Linked DNA regions of Homo sapiens: region 1 is linked to region 2. Evidence: promoter capture Hi-C in human tissues and cell types (Jung and others, 2019). All regions are on one chromosome and are shown on one strand. The core of a region is centred on a gene start or on the middle of the fragment in contact, and the rest is flanking DNA. Distances in the headings are between cores, read along the strand shown.

Region 1 (7,628 bases), core at 2,828-5,327, 83 kb before region 2:
CACGAACAGCACATCCAGGTTAGTTTCTGTATGGGTCTGACATTTCCGAATCAATCTTCGAGCATGTCCTTGCTTTCTAACACAAGAAGGTGACCCACTTGTACTTCCCCTGCTGCATTTCTGGAAGCAGCCAGTTCTTTCAGCCTAGTTCTATTTAGTGAGGGCTGGGATCTAAAGCCATGGCCAGGAGTTCTTGTTACTGGGCACCTGCCTCTAAGCTGTTTCAGTGTTCAGAACTAGGAAATCGATGCTTTTTAATTTATTTTTGTAATTATGACTTTGTCAATCTAAACAACAAACAGAGAGAAAGACTCTCTAGAAGAAAATAATGTTTATTCAGGTATAGGCATTGCAATGGGAATATGGGGGCCATAGTAAATTATTGATATGTACATATTCTGGGAGGTAAAGGAAGGCAAAAGTTTTTAAAGAAAAAATGAGGACCAGCCTGGCCAACATGGCGAAACCCCATCTCTACTAAAAATACAAAAATTAGCCGGGCATGGTGTCAGGTGCCTATAATCCCAGCTACACGGAAGGCTGAGGCCGGAGACTCGCTTGAAACCAGGAGGCAGAAGTTGCAATGAGCCGAGATCACGCCACTGCACTCCAGCCTGGAACTCCATCAAAAAAAAAAAAAAAAAAAAAAAAAAAAGGAAGAAAAATTGTTTTGAGATAATCATCCTTGGCTACAAGGATCAGTAACAAGGGTAGCACAGTTCAAGACTGGACAGGCAGTTGCTGGGCAGATGTCCTCACAGAAGTATTTTTGTGTGTGTAGAATTGTGACGGCCTTTGTGCAAGGTTGTGGTTTTTGCAAAATCTTTTGCGATAGTGATTGTGACCAGGCATTGATGCATGAGAACCCGCCCGTCATGGCCTTCCCCGGCTCTTCTTGTCAGGGTTTTTAATACAAGTGGCTGAAAATTGATTCAGACAATTTTCACAAGTTCCTATTGATATTCTCAGTTTGAATTTAGCATTACTGGGTTTTGTTTGTATACAGTGAAGGGGTCCAAGAGCCGTTTTGTTATATGCATAGATTGCATAGTAGTGAAGTCTGGTATTTTAGTGTATCCATCACCAGATAGTGTATATTGTACCCGTTAAGTAATTTCTCAGCATTATAGGTTTTTATTTAATTAATTTATTTATTTAGAGATGGAGTTTTGCTTTTGTTGCCCAGGCTGGAGTGCAATGGCGTGGTCTCGGCTCACTGCAACCTCCACCTCCCAGGTTCAAGCGATTTTCCTGCCTCAGCCTCCCAAGTAGCTGGGATTACAGGCGTGCATCACCATGCCCAGCTAATTTTGTATTTTTAGTAGAGATGGGGTTTCACCATGTTGGCCAGGCTGGTCTTGAACTCCTGACCTCAGGTGATCTTCCCACCTTGGCCTCCCAAAGTGCTGGGATTACAGGTGTGAGCCACCCATGCCCAGCCTGCATTATAGGTTTTTAAAAATACTTGATTTTATATTTGTGTCTCTTTTCTCTTACATTGGAAATCTTGGTTCTTGACAAAATTCGCATTTTTATCTCTGCATCTTACTGCGCCATAGTTTATTCAATCAGTCCCCTATTTTTTTTCTTTTTTAAACTTTTTTGAGAGGCTTTTGGGCAAAAACCAGAAAGCCTGCTAGACAAATTCTAAAAGAACTGTAACACTAATCAGTCCCCTATTAATTGACATTTGGGTTGTCTCCAATATTCAACTTTTGCAGATAATGCCATAAGAAATATTTTTTTGGCCGGGTGCAGTGGCTCACACCTGTAATCCTAGCACTTTGGGAGGCTAAGGTGGCTGGATCACCTGAGATCAGGAGTTCGAGATCACGCCACTGCACTCCAGCCTGGATGACAGCAAGACTCCATCTCAAGGGAAAATAATAATAACAATAATAATAATAATAATTTTTTTGAGACGGAATCTGTCTCTGTCGCCCAGACTGGAATGCATCTGGCGTGATTTTAGCTCACTGCAACCTCCGCCTCCCAGGTTCAAGAGATTATTCTGCCTTCGCCTCCTGGGTAGCTGGGACTACAAGTGCGTGCCACAACATGCCACTAATTTTTGTATTTTTAGTAGAGATGGGGTTTCACCACGTTGGCCAGGCTGGTCTTGAACTCTTGACCTCGTGATCTGCCCGCCTCAGCCTCCCAAAGTGCTGGGATTACAGGCATGAGCCACCACGCCTGACCAATAATATTTTTTTGAAATGAAAGTTCCCATATATGTAATACTGAACCCAGCCTACTAGTGTACAACATGTAAACAAAGAGAAAAAATAGATTCCTTTTTTTTTTTTTTTTTTTTTTTGAGATGGAGTCTCACTCTGTTGCCCAGGCTGGAGCGCAGTGGCGCCATATCAGCTCATTGCAACCTCTGTCTCCTGGGTTTAAGAGATTCTCCTGCCTCAGCCTCCCAATTAGCTGGGACTGCAGGCTGGTGCCACCACGCCTGGCTATTTTTTTTTTTTTTTTTGTATTTTTAGTAGAGATGGGTTTTCACCACGTTGGCTAGGCTGGCCTCAAACTCCTGACCTCAAGTGATCCACCCGCCTTGGCCTCCCAAATTAGTGGGATTACAGGCGTGAGCCATTGCGCCTTGTCAAAAATGTATTCCTAATAAAACATGTCAAACTGTCCAGATATGGTGACATTTTCAGCTTGATATGGTGATGATGGTGACCTTGATAGAACATAATATGTGTGTCATCTCATGTGTAATTCCTTATAGACCCAGCTTGGTTCTTCTTCAATATCTCCTTTTGGAGTTGTACCTAATTTGATTACCAGTTTTCATCTGATTCCACTGGGAAATGGGATGATTTTTGCTTTTGTTTCTTGGCCAGGAATCACTTAATCCTCAAAGTCTTGTGAGAAGACATGGCGAGAAGCAGAGTCAAACACACACCACGATAGCAGAGAAGGGAAGAGAGAGAGAAGAAAGAATCTTTTATGGGCCAGGAGAGGAGGCTCACACTTGTAATCCCGCACTCTGGAAGGCTGAGGTGAGCGGATCACCTGAGGTCAGGAGTTTGAGACCAGCCTGGCTAACATGGTGAAACCCTGTCTCCACTAAAAATACAAATAATTAGCCAGGCATGGTGGCTCGCATCTGTGGCCCCAGCTACTTGGGAGGCTTAGCCACGAGAACTGCTTGAACTCAGGAGGTGGAGGTTGCAGAAAGCTGAGATGGTACCACTGTACTCCAGCCTGTGTGACAGAGTGAGATTCTGTCTCAAAAGAAAAAAAAAAAAAGAAAAAAAAAACAATTCTGTATGCACACATGTGTGAGTGTAGGGTTGTGTGTGTGTGTGTGTGTGTGTGTAGAGTGTAGGTGTGTAGGGAAGATGCATAGCAAAGAAAGAATGCACACATTATGGCCTTAGATATGGCCAAATTCCTGTCTAGAGAGGGTGTGCAGTCCTGTCCTCCCACTCCCAGAAGTGTAGATTTGTTCCCACAGCCTTGCCAGCAAGGTGGGTTGTCAAATTTGGGGAATTTTGGCCGGGTGCGGTGGCTCTCACCTGTAATCCCAGCACTTTGGGAGGCTGAGGCAGGCAGATCACGAGGTCAGGAGATCGAGACCATCCTGGCTAACATGGTGAAACCCTGTCTCTATTAAAAACACAAAAAATTGGCCAGGTGTGGTGGCGGGCACCTGTAGTCCCAGCTACTGGGGAGGCTGAGGCAGGAGGATGGCGTGAACCCGGGAGGCAGAGCTTGCAGTGAGCCAAGATTGCACCACTGCACTCCAGCCTGGGCGACAGAGCGAGACTCCGTCTCAAAAAAAAAAAAAAAAAATGAGAGGTATTTTGCCAATCTGATAGGACAGGAGGAAGGGCATCCCAGGGTAGTTTTAATTTGTGTTTCCTTTATGTTGAGTGAGGCTGTCTTTTCATACTTCTTAGGGTCACTTACATTTTTCTGAAAACTTTCCATTTATGCCTTTTTTCTGTTGTTTTTTTTTTTTGTCAAATAATTGACTTTTCACAATTAAGACTGTGATATAATAGTTCTGTGTATATTAGAGAGGCCGTTTGTGATATAAGTTGCAAAAGTTTTCTCTCCGTCTATCATTTATCTTCTGACTTTGCTCTGCTTGCTTTCTTCTTACCATGGAAAAGGTTTTTGTTTTGTTTTGTTTTGCTTTGGTTTTTTGAGGTCGCCTAACTTATCGGTCTTCTATTGTTTCTGACTGTTCAGCCATTTTTAGAAAGGTTTTCTTCACTCCTGATTACACAGAATTCACTCATGTTTTCTTCTTGCACTCGTATGATTTCACTTTTGACACTTAAAGTTTATTCTGGTGTAGGGTGTGGAGAGGGATCTAACTTTATCTTTTTCCAAATGGTCACTGCATATGCTTCAGGGGAGGCGCAGCTAAAATAAAACCTCTAGCTGTGAATGCTGCTGCTTGGGGGACTGAGAAATGGTCTCACGGTGACCATGAAACTCTTTAACATCCAACACGCTGCGGAGTGTGGCCCGGCACAATTTATTGCTGGGGGTGTGTAGAGGCGTGATCAGGGATTTGAGAGAGGAGGTGGCCTACCCAAGAAGACAAAACACCCAGAATTTTAAATTTTAATTGAGCCAGGCTCGGTGGCTCATGCTTGTAACCCTAATGTTTTGGGAGACTGAGGTGGGAGGATCTCTTGAGACCAGGACTTCGAAACCAGCCTGGGAAACATAGTTAGGCCCAATCTCTAAAAAAATAAAAATAAAAAAAGTATCCGGGTGTAGTGGTACATGCCCATATTCCCAGCTCTTTGGGAGGCTGAGTTGGGAGGACCACTTGAGCCCAGGAGCTCGAGGCTGTAGTGAGCTATGATCGCACCACTGTACTCCAAGCAGGGACAAAGCGAGATCCTGTCTCAATAAATACATAAATAAATAAAATTGGCAGGCATCAATGTCAAGATGAAGCCTTTGACAACATTCCACAGACAGCTCTTTCCTTCTTTCCTGAACTCACAAACTTCCAGGGGTTCTGCGTTGCCTACAGATATAGCCCAGGCTGCTTATTTAGCCCAGGGTCCTTCATACATGACTTTTCTTGCCTCCTATTCCCTACACCTGACCATTTATAAAGCAAGCAAGCCTTCTGTGGTCTTGCTTCCCTGCTTCTGCTCAAGCTGGGTCCTACTGTCGTAAAGCCCATCTGCTCCATCACCATTGATCAAATTCTTGATGAAACCAGAAGCAAAGTTCAAGTCTCACCCTCACCAGTAAGTTGCCCTCATCACTCTAATTTTGACGTCTTTCTCCTGCAGCACTTTGTAGGGTGGTTCTGGGCTGGACCTGGCCTTGAGCAGAGTAGGATCAGTCTTTCCCATGTCATCTGCTGGGTCCATGCTCCTTGCCAGCAGGTATAGGGGACTGAATTATCTCCTCATCCCAATTCATGTCTACCTGGAACCGCAGAACGTGACTTTATTTGGAAAGGGAGTCTTTGAAGATGAAGTTCGGTTCAGCTGAATTCACACTGGGTTGAGGTGGGCTTTAAATACAATGCCTGGGGTCTCATAAGAAGAGGAGCAAACACAGAGGGACACAGAGGAGAAGCCTGCATGAAGATGGAGGCAGAGACTGGGCTGACGCAGCCACAGCCAAGGAACACCAAGCATGGCCAGTGACCACCAGAAGCTTAGAAAGAGCCAGGGAACAGCTGCTCCCTCGGAACCTTCAGAGGGAACCAACCCTGCTGACTGACACCTTGGGTTTGGGACTTTTGGCCTCGAGAATTGTGAGAGAATAATCTTCTGTTGTTTTAAGCCACCCAGTTTGCAGTAACTTGTTATGGCAGCCCTGGGAAATGAATATAGCAGGCATCAACAGTAACAATATTTACTCAGTGCTCACACTGCGTGGGCACTCTGCTAGATATTCACACGTGTCTCTCACTGGACTGTCCGTATTAACCTGTTCTCACGTTGCTGTGAAGAAATCCTGGCACTGGGTAATTTATAAAGGAAAGCAGTTTAATTGACTCACAGTTCCTCAGGGCTGGGAGGGCCTCAGGAAACTTACAATCATGGCAGGAGGGGAAGCAAACATGTCCTTCTTCAAGTGGCGGCAGGAAGGAGAAGTGCCGAGCAAAGTGGGGAAAGCCCCTTATAAAACCATCAGGTCTCGTGAGAACTCACTCGCTATCCCGAGAACAGCATGGGAGAACCACCCCCATGACTCAATTACCTCCCCCAGTTTCCCTACCATGACACATGGGGATTATGGGAACTACCGTTCAAGATGAGATTTGGGTGGGGACACAGCCAAACCATGTCACTGTCCTGGGAACCTTCTGAGCTGGGAATTTAAGGTATTAGTGTCATCTCCATTTTACAGACAGAGAAACTGAGGCTTGGAGACTCACCCAGGACCACACATCTTGTTTGCAGAGCCAGGATCCCAATAGGCCAGCCCTCTCTGTCCTCACCAGAGGGCCCGGCTCACCCACTGCACACCCTCAGCTGCCATGGCCAGTTCTCCTGGTCTCTCATTTACCTTCTGAATGCCAACACTTCCCAAATCTTGGCCTCTGCCTTCAAGTCTAAACTCCAAATCCACTGGGCCTGTCTCTCTGGCATCTCAATTGAGCTGGTCCCAAAGTGACATCAGCCCACGTTCTCTAGCCCAGTTCCTACCTCATGTCTCAGGGAATGGCACCACCCACACCCTAGCTAAAATCCTGAGTTCAACTTCCAACATAGTTTGGATGTGTGTCCCTGCCCAAATCTCATGCTGACATGTAATCCCCAATATTGGAGGTGGGGTCTGGTGGGAGGTGATTAGATCATGGGGGCAGATTTCTCACGGATGGTTTATTACCATCCTCTTGGTACTGTCCTCTTGATAGTGAATGACTTCTCATGAAAGCTGGTCATTTAAAAGTGTGTGGCACCTCCTCGCTGTCTCTTTCTTGCTCTTGCTTTCTCTATGTGACGTGCCTGCTTTCCATTTGCCTTCCGCCATGATTGGAAGCTTCCTGAAGCCTTCTCAGAAGCAGATGCCGCTATGGTTCTTGTACAACCTGCAGAACTGTGAGCCAATTAAACCTCTTTTCTTTATAAATTACCCAGTCTCAGATATTTCTTTGTAGCAACGCAAGAACGGCCTAACACATCCTCTTTCTCCTCTATCTCCCGTCTTACCACCTTAATCCAGGCTGTCATCACCATTCCCCTGGAGTACTGCATCCTGTTTCTAAACAGCCCCTCCCTGCCTTCTGGCCTGGCCCCATTCTCTACACCCCAGCAGATGTCGACCCAATTAAAATCCTTCAAGGCTCCTCACTGAGCTCAGGATCAAGGTCAAACACCTTCACATGACCCCTCGTGATCTGCCCCTACTGTGTCTCCAGTGGTTATGACTCAGACGTTGATTATCCGGTGACTGGGGCAAGTCTCTCTGACTCAGTTCCCTTACCTGTAAAATTACACCTACTGCATAGGATTATTCTGAAGGTAAATATATGCACGCAAAACCATAGGAAACTGTTCGGTACTCAATGCATGTTGCCTGTTGGCTGACATTAGTATTTCTTGCCTCTCTTTCCCCAGCATGCTTGGTTACAGCCATGCTAGTTGCTTCTCAGCTGCTCCTGCCTTTCTCATTCTTGTTAT
Region 2 (7,177 bases), core at 3,627-6,126:
ACTCTCTCTTGGCGCCTCACAGACTGTCCCTGCTGTGATTTAGGTGCTCCACAGAGCATCTACAATCCTCCTGTGAGCAGAAAAGTCTGTGGGTGTGTGCTCCATGACATCACAGTTTTGCTGAGCGCGTGCAAAATGCTCCAGACCACAGATTTCTATTCATGTTAGAGCTGGAAGGGACTGAGAAAACCAGCTCCCTTGAGCTGCTATGGGGAAAGTGAGGCTCAGAGGGAAAGGTTTTGCCCAGGGTGTCACAGCAAATTTGTGCCCAAGACACCCTGGGTCCTAGGCTTCCTTACGTCTAACCAGCATCGTCAGTGCTGCCACACTCGGCTGCCCCTCCACTGCCTCCAGAACAAAGGCCAGGCTCGAACGTGTCACCACATGAGCAGGGGTCAGAGAAGGCTGTGCTGAGCTCAGGTCCAGTCCAAGGGAGATGTTGGAGATGGAAGGGGCCAGAACATTTAGCATGGACTGGGGCAGGGAAGGCACATTCCAAGCTTCCAAGCAGGTCCCAGGTGGATAGGAATAACAAGACGGGGCTGGGAAATATTTCTTTCTGCTGTGTCCAGAGCAGGGCTGGAGCTGGGGGTCCAGTTTGAACCCAGGAGGTCAAGGCTCCAGTGAGCCATGATCGCAGTACTGCACTCCAGCCTAGGACACAGGGAGACCCTGACTCAAAAAAAAAAAAAAAAAAGAGGCAGGGTAGGGGGAGCATCCCAGTTGATGCAAGAAGAGATGGCATCAGAGGAATGAAAGGAAACACAAGAACAGACCAGGAGATGGCCTCCGCGAGATGATGGGGGTGGTACATCAGAGCACTTGGAGGAGGCTGGGGAAGAGGCCCTTTAGCAAGATGGAGCCCAGCCATGGAGCCTCTATCCCTGGAGCCAAAAGCCAGCAAGGCTGCCTTAGAGGAGCCACCTTAAGAGCCACTGAGTGAGTCTCCTGGAAAGACAAGAGAGTATGCTTCTGCAGCAGAGCCACAGCACTGTGACTGTCAACAGACACAGGGACAGTCGCAGCTGCCCTGGGGGTGGGCCTGGGCCAGGGCAGGCAGGGCAGGGGCCTCTTTCCAGCTCAACCTCCTATGGAAAGGAGAGCTGAAGGTGGGGAATGAGATGGGGGGTCCATGGTTTATTGACACCTGCCATATCCTTGGCTGGTCCCTGCCACATGGAGCAGACATGCTGACTCACGCACAGTGGTTTCCTGTTGTGCCTCCCGTGGTGTCCGGCTCACCCAGGACCAACTAGGGTGAGGTGAGGGAGACACTTGCCCCCATGCAAAACTTAAGGAGGCGCCAAAAAACTCGGCAATCAAGATGAAAATAGGCCAGGCACAGTGGCTCATGCCTATAATCCCAGCACTTTGGGAGGCTGAGGCAGGAGGATCGCTTGAACCCAGGAGGTCAAGGCTGCAGTGAGCCATGATCGCAGTACTGCACTCCAACCTGGGTGACACAGTGAGACCCTGTCTCAAAAAAAAAAAAAAGCATCTTGAGTAGCTGGGATTACAGGTGGGTGCCACTACACCTGGCTATTTTTTGTATTTTTAGTAGAGATGGAATTTCACCACGTCAGCTAGGCTGGTCTTGAACTCCTGGCCTCAAGTGATCTCCCTTTCTCAGCCTCCGAAAGTGCTGGGATGATAGGCATGAGCCACTGTACCCAGCCCCAAAAACGTTTTTTAAAGAATGGGTCTTGCTCTTTCACCCAGGCTGGAGTGTGGTGCTGTGATCACGACTCACTGCAATCTTGACCTCCTGGGCTCAAGTGATCCTCCCGCCTCAGCCTCTTGAGTAGCTGGGACCTCAGGTATGTGCCACCATGCCTGACTACCTTTTTTCTTTTTTTTTTTTTCTTCTTTTTTTTCTTTTTTTTTTTTCTTTTTTTTTGTAGAGATGGGGTCTCCCTATGTTGCTCAGGCTGGTCTCGAACTCCTGGGCTCCAGCGATCCTCCCACCTCAGCCTCCCAATGTGCTGGGATTAGAAGCATGAGCTGGCAACATCAGAATTTGTAAAGAAAAGATTGCTGGCTGGGCGCGGTAGCTCACGCCTGTAATCCCAGCACTTTGGGAGGCCGAGGTGGGTGGATCACGAAGTCAGGAGATTGAGACCATCCTGGCCAACACGGTGAAACCCTGTCTGTAATAAAAATACAAAAAAAGTTAGCCGGGCACGGTGGCGGGCGCCTGTAGTCCCAGCTACTCGGGAGGCTGAGGCAGGAGAATGGCGTGAACCTGGGAGGCGGAGCTTGCAGTGAGCCGAGATGGCGCCACTGCACTCCAGCCTGGGCGACAGAGCAAGACTCCATCTCAAAAAAAAAAAAAAAAAAGATAGCTGCACCTTGCCATACTGAGGCCTGAGGCAAAAGGAGAAATCAGTAACACTGAGCCTACCTTTACTTAAATTTTTGACATGTTATTCTAAATGGATTTTAGGCAGCATTATTTTTGATTTTTAAAATATATTGCATTAAAACGTGAAAAACATCCACCTCAATGATTGAATTGCCGGCACTCCCTTAAGTTTTGTGCTGAGGGTGCATCACTTGCCTTGCCCTAATGTTGGCCCAGGGCTTACAAATGACTCAAAGGTGAAGCTCCAGAAAAGTGAGAGAGAGCACATAGGTGGAGTTCCAGGGAGAAAGGGCGTGTGCCCTTTCGGCCTGGCTTTTCCCTCATCATGGTGGGAGCTGTGGTTGGTAGTGGTTGAGAGGAACTGACTCTGTTCTTGATCCTAGCAACTTGTGACATGCACGCCAGGAATGTCATGAGAGGAGCTGTAATAAGCTATCCGAAGTGATCGTCCCTTGAACGAGAGCCACTGCAGCCAAATTAGTGTGGATGAAGGGCACAGGGGACGGGCACTTCTCGATCTGGGGGAGGAGGGAGGAAAAAAATGATTACCCATAGGTTTTAGGCTTTAATTGATTTGTATTTTTCCAGGCTGCTAAAGAAGATTGAATCATGGTAGGAAAAGCGCCTAGGGCTTAAAATAAATGAGGAGAAAGGCAAGTCATTTCAGAAATGTCCAGGAAGCAAAACAAACCTCTCCAGTGCAAATGGCAGGCATGGCTGTTGTGTTCTTTGCTCAGGGGGAGGCAGCTTCCTTTTCTTCCCCAGCTATCTTTACAGTTGGGTTTGACAAGCCTACCAAGGTGTACACACTTTGAGGAAGCGGTTTGGAGGGGAAGAGGCAACAGTGCTGGCTTTTACGTTGGGAGGGCATGTCTCTGGGCTGATGGCTGGTAGAAAAGGGCTTTAGCTGGAGCCTGGATGCAGAGTTCATGCCCTGGCTCTGCCCAATCTAACCAGTGGCCCTAGCCAAGATTTCCCCCTTTTCTGGGCCTCAGTTTATCCATCTGTCAAATGAGAGAGTTTGGATTAGCCTCTTCTTCAAGAGGCCTTCTGGTTCTAAGGCTGTATGATCAACAACTGATGAGAAAAGAAGCCCAGAAAGGGGAAGTGACTCACCCAAAGTTACCCAGCCAACCACTCCTCATTGTTCTAATCCTCCAACTTCTCATCTGTAAAATGGGAATGAAGGTGCCTATTTCACAGGATTGTTGGAACGATTAAATGAGATACTACTACTAATAGTAGCCCCATATATTGTGTGCTTACTGCATGCCAATTACTCTCCAATACATTAGCTCCTGAAATCCTTCAGCAGTTCCCTCTTCACAGGGCAGGAAAGTGAGGCACGGAGCAAGCAGAGAGTTTGCCAAGCTCACACAGTAAGAAGCGGAGCCAGAACTTGAAGCTGGGGCTGTCTGCATTGACTGTGCCATTTTCCCTCTCCATAAGGTACAGAGACAACAGAATTTTGCCGAGAGCACAAAGAGTTCAACAAACTCTTACAGCTCCTACGATTAACGGCAACAGACAAGAGCTAGAGATCCCAATTCAGTGTTGCGACTAATAAAATATCAAGCTGCCCCGTACCACTGGGAATTCATACGACTTAAAAAGCTCCGTCTCCAGCGCGAACCTTCCCCTCGCCCCCACCCCGAGACAGCTGTGCAGGCCCCTCCATCCTCCGGACCCCTCCATCTTTCCATCCTCCACCCCAGCTTCCAGTTTCTGACCCAGAGGCCGGGGTGGGGTCCGAGTGGGCCCACCCACACTCATCCCTGTTTACCCTTGCTTGTCCTAGAGCGCTCTTCGCTCCACGGAGCACCCAGAGAAGTTGGAGTGACTCCGTGAGTGTCGGTGCCCCGGAGGGTGGGGAGGCCCGTTCCAGGACTTGGGAGGCGAGGGTGGGTGGGGACGTCGGGCGAGAAGGGGCGGGGCCGCGGGCGTGATTGTTACCGCCGGTGCCATAGCAATCGGGTCACTTGGCGGCTTGGCCAGAGCCGGGGAGCTGGGAGGGGTCTACCGGGGCTCGACTCTAGGAGTTGGGCTGAGGATTTCCACCCGATCCTCGAACCTCCGGCCCATCTCATGGACGCCCCTCCCCCTTCAAACACCCTCCCCCACATTTATTCCCGCGTCTGTTTTAAAGATGGGTAAACTGAGGCACAGGGAGCCGGGCCGGGGAGCACTGACAGAACCAGAAGCAGGTTCTGCCTCCCGTCCCCTCGGAGGGCCGACTTGCCCCTTCTGGGTTTCGTCGGGGGTCTCAGATACGAGGAGGCCCAGCTGGAAGCCACCTGAGGGTGTCCCCCGCTAAGATGCGCAAATGGGAAAAGCGAGGCCGGGGTTGGGGAAAGAACTTGCCCGAGCCGCAGAGCGCGTCAGCCGGGGAGGTCGGGGCGGGGGCGACCCGCGCGACCGAGGATCGGGTATCTGGGCCCGGCGCGGAGCCTGCAGGGCGGGGCCGCGGCGCGTGCTGATGACGCAGTCGGCGCGGCGGCCCTAGCGACGCGGTTACTAGGGAGCGGCGAGCCGAGACGGCTACATGGACGCCACTATCGCCCCGCACCGTATCCCCCCCGAGATGCCCCAGTACGGGGAGGAGAACCACATCTTCGAGTTGATGCAGGTGACCGGACACCCCTGCCCGTCGCGACGCTGGCGGCGGCTCGGGAGCCTCCACTGCGACGTCGGGTGCGCGGCCGGGACCCGCAGCTGGGGCCGAGTCGCGCGCCCACGAAGCAGCCCAACTCGGGATGTACGATTCGTGTGTCGCCGTGACCCCGAGGGGGCCCTCGAGCTGGGGACGCTCCTGGTCCTGCCCGGGTTTGCCTCAGGCGGACCCAGGGGGAGGAAGGGGGCCACTCGAGCCGGGATTTGGTCCTGGCTGTGCCGCCAGCGGGCCTTATGGTCTGGAACCAGTCCTTTCCTTTTCTCGGTTTCCCCACCTGTGAAATGCCAGGTTGCAAGAGGTGGTCTCCCAGGGGCTCTCCCGGCGCTGACAATTACCATCTGTCGAATTTGTGGGGAGCCTCTCGGCCCAGGTTTCTGAGGTGGGCATTGTCCGAGTTCAAGCTGGCATCTCCATCCTCAGAGAGGGCCGCCTCTGGGACAGCAGCATCTCCCACCTTGGTCCCTCCTCCTCAGGGCCAGACGTCCCCGGCAGCTCCGAAGCTCTCATTCTGGCTCCAGGCCTGACTGGGCCCCCAGCTCACCGTGTGACTTTGGGCGAGGCCCCGTCCCCGCCAGGGCCCCAGTTTTCCCTTTTGCACGTGGTGGAGGTCAAGGCTTTCAGGAGCTGGAGGGGAAGAACTCTCAGCCACTCAAAGGTTCTGAGAGGCAAGGGGAAGCTGGAGCTCAGTTTTCAGATCATTTGTCTGCTTCCCAGGGTACACCCCATCCCCAGGGGCATGGCATGGAGGGCATAGTGGTGTCTGTGGTCATTTGAGGTTCTGCCCTGCACACTAGACAGCTGAGCCCAGACGAAGAAACCCGTGTCTGCACCTCCATCAAACACATTTCCCTCGGAAAGTGTTAACTGATAGAGGGAGAGCAAGAGATTCCTAAAACTGCTTGAGTGGCCAATCACAAATCAAATAGCTAGCTGGGTTAGAAGTCAGCAGGTCAGGGCAGGATGGGGGATCATCTGGAGCCCTGTTGTCTGCTCTAGAGAACCTGGTGTGTTTTCCACATTGATTGTTGGAGGAATTGCCCAGGAAAGCTTTTATTGATTTTGAAACAGGGTCTTGCACTGCTGCCCAGGCTGGAGTGCAGTGATACAATCATGGCTTACTGCAGCCTTGAACTCCTGGGCTCAAGCAATCCTTCTGCCTTAGTCCCTCCAGAGTAGCCGAGACTACAGGTGCAGGCCACCATACCTGGCTAATGTTTTTTTTTTAATTTTAGTACAGACGAGGTCTTGCTATGTTGCCCGGACTGGTCTTGAACTCCTGGGCTCAAACAGTCCTTCTGCCTCGGCCTCCCAACAAGAAAGCTTTCAGTCCAGTATTTCCAGTCCTTAGTCATCTGTGGATTCCCTCCATGTTTTTGACCATTTCCATTTTTTATACTTTTGATTTTAAAATAATGTTAGATTCACAGGAAGTTAAAAAATAGTATGGATTTCTGGTCTCCCCTCCCACATTGCCCCCGTGATAACATCTAACATAACTGTAGCACATTGTCAAAACCAGGAAACTGGCATTGGTACAATAGGATTACCTGAACTGTAGGCCTTGTTTGGATTTCCTCCATTTTTACCTGCATTGATGTTTTTGTTGTGCATACAGTTCTGTGCAGTTGTATCACATGTACAGATTTGCATAACCGCTACTGCACCTCCATTTAAACTAATCACTTGTTTAAATCAACTCACCTTTTAAAAAATTAAATAGCCGCTTTTGCCTCATCCTAAGTGATATCCTTGAAATTATTGATTTGATGTACTTATATTTCTAATACACGTTAAATACACAATGATTTAAACATGAAATGTAAAATATTTATGTGTGAACCATCTAAAATCATCTCATTCCATCATCGCACCAGTGACATACAAACATGAATTCACTCCAGCTGTGCTACTGAACAGGCAGAGAAGCTGAGGCCCAGAGAAGGGAAGGGACTTGCTGATGAGATACAGTGGGGCTGGAACCAAGACTTCTCATGGCTCGGTGCTCTTTCCCTGCCCCACACTCCCTTCACTCCAAGAGGGCTACAGCCCCTCCCTCCTTGTCCCTGGGGCTCAAGGATACCCCTTATTGCAGCAGCACAGCTGCTATGAGCTCCTCCTCATTTCTCTGCCTAGGGTTCTGCAAC

The links. Contacts are between HindIII fragments. The study calls those that stand out against the background at their distance.
Region 1: a fragment that was not itself captured here is called in contact with the fragment with the promoter of AK8 in region 2 in 9 of the 25 tissues and cell types used here (H1 embryonic stem cells, bladder, heart left ventricle and 6 more).

What each region holds. Positions count from the first base shown.
Region 1 is chr9:132,957,771-132,965,398 of GRCh38, reverse strand. It overlaps a transcript of GFI1B not described here, the pseudogene RPL39P24 and the pseudogene RNU7-21P. Among named protein-coding and RNA genes, the nearest start is that of MIR548AW, 16 kb to the right of the region's middle. The HindIII fragment of the contact is 7,856 bases long and covers 150-7,628 here.
Region 2 is chr9:132,875,983-132,883,159 of GRCh38, reverse strand. It overlaps AK8 (adenylate kinase 8), which reads left to right and starts at 4,876. Exons shown (of 13, transcript NM_152572.3): 1 at 4,876-4,988. The coding sequence starts at 4,905. It overlaps SPACA9 (sperm acrosome associated 9), which reads right to left and starts at 4,262. Exons shown (of 4, transcript NM_001316897.2): 1 at 4,146-4,262. The HindIII fragment of the contact is 8,008 bases long and covers 1-6,970 here.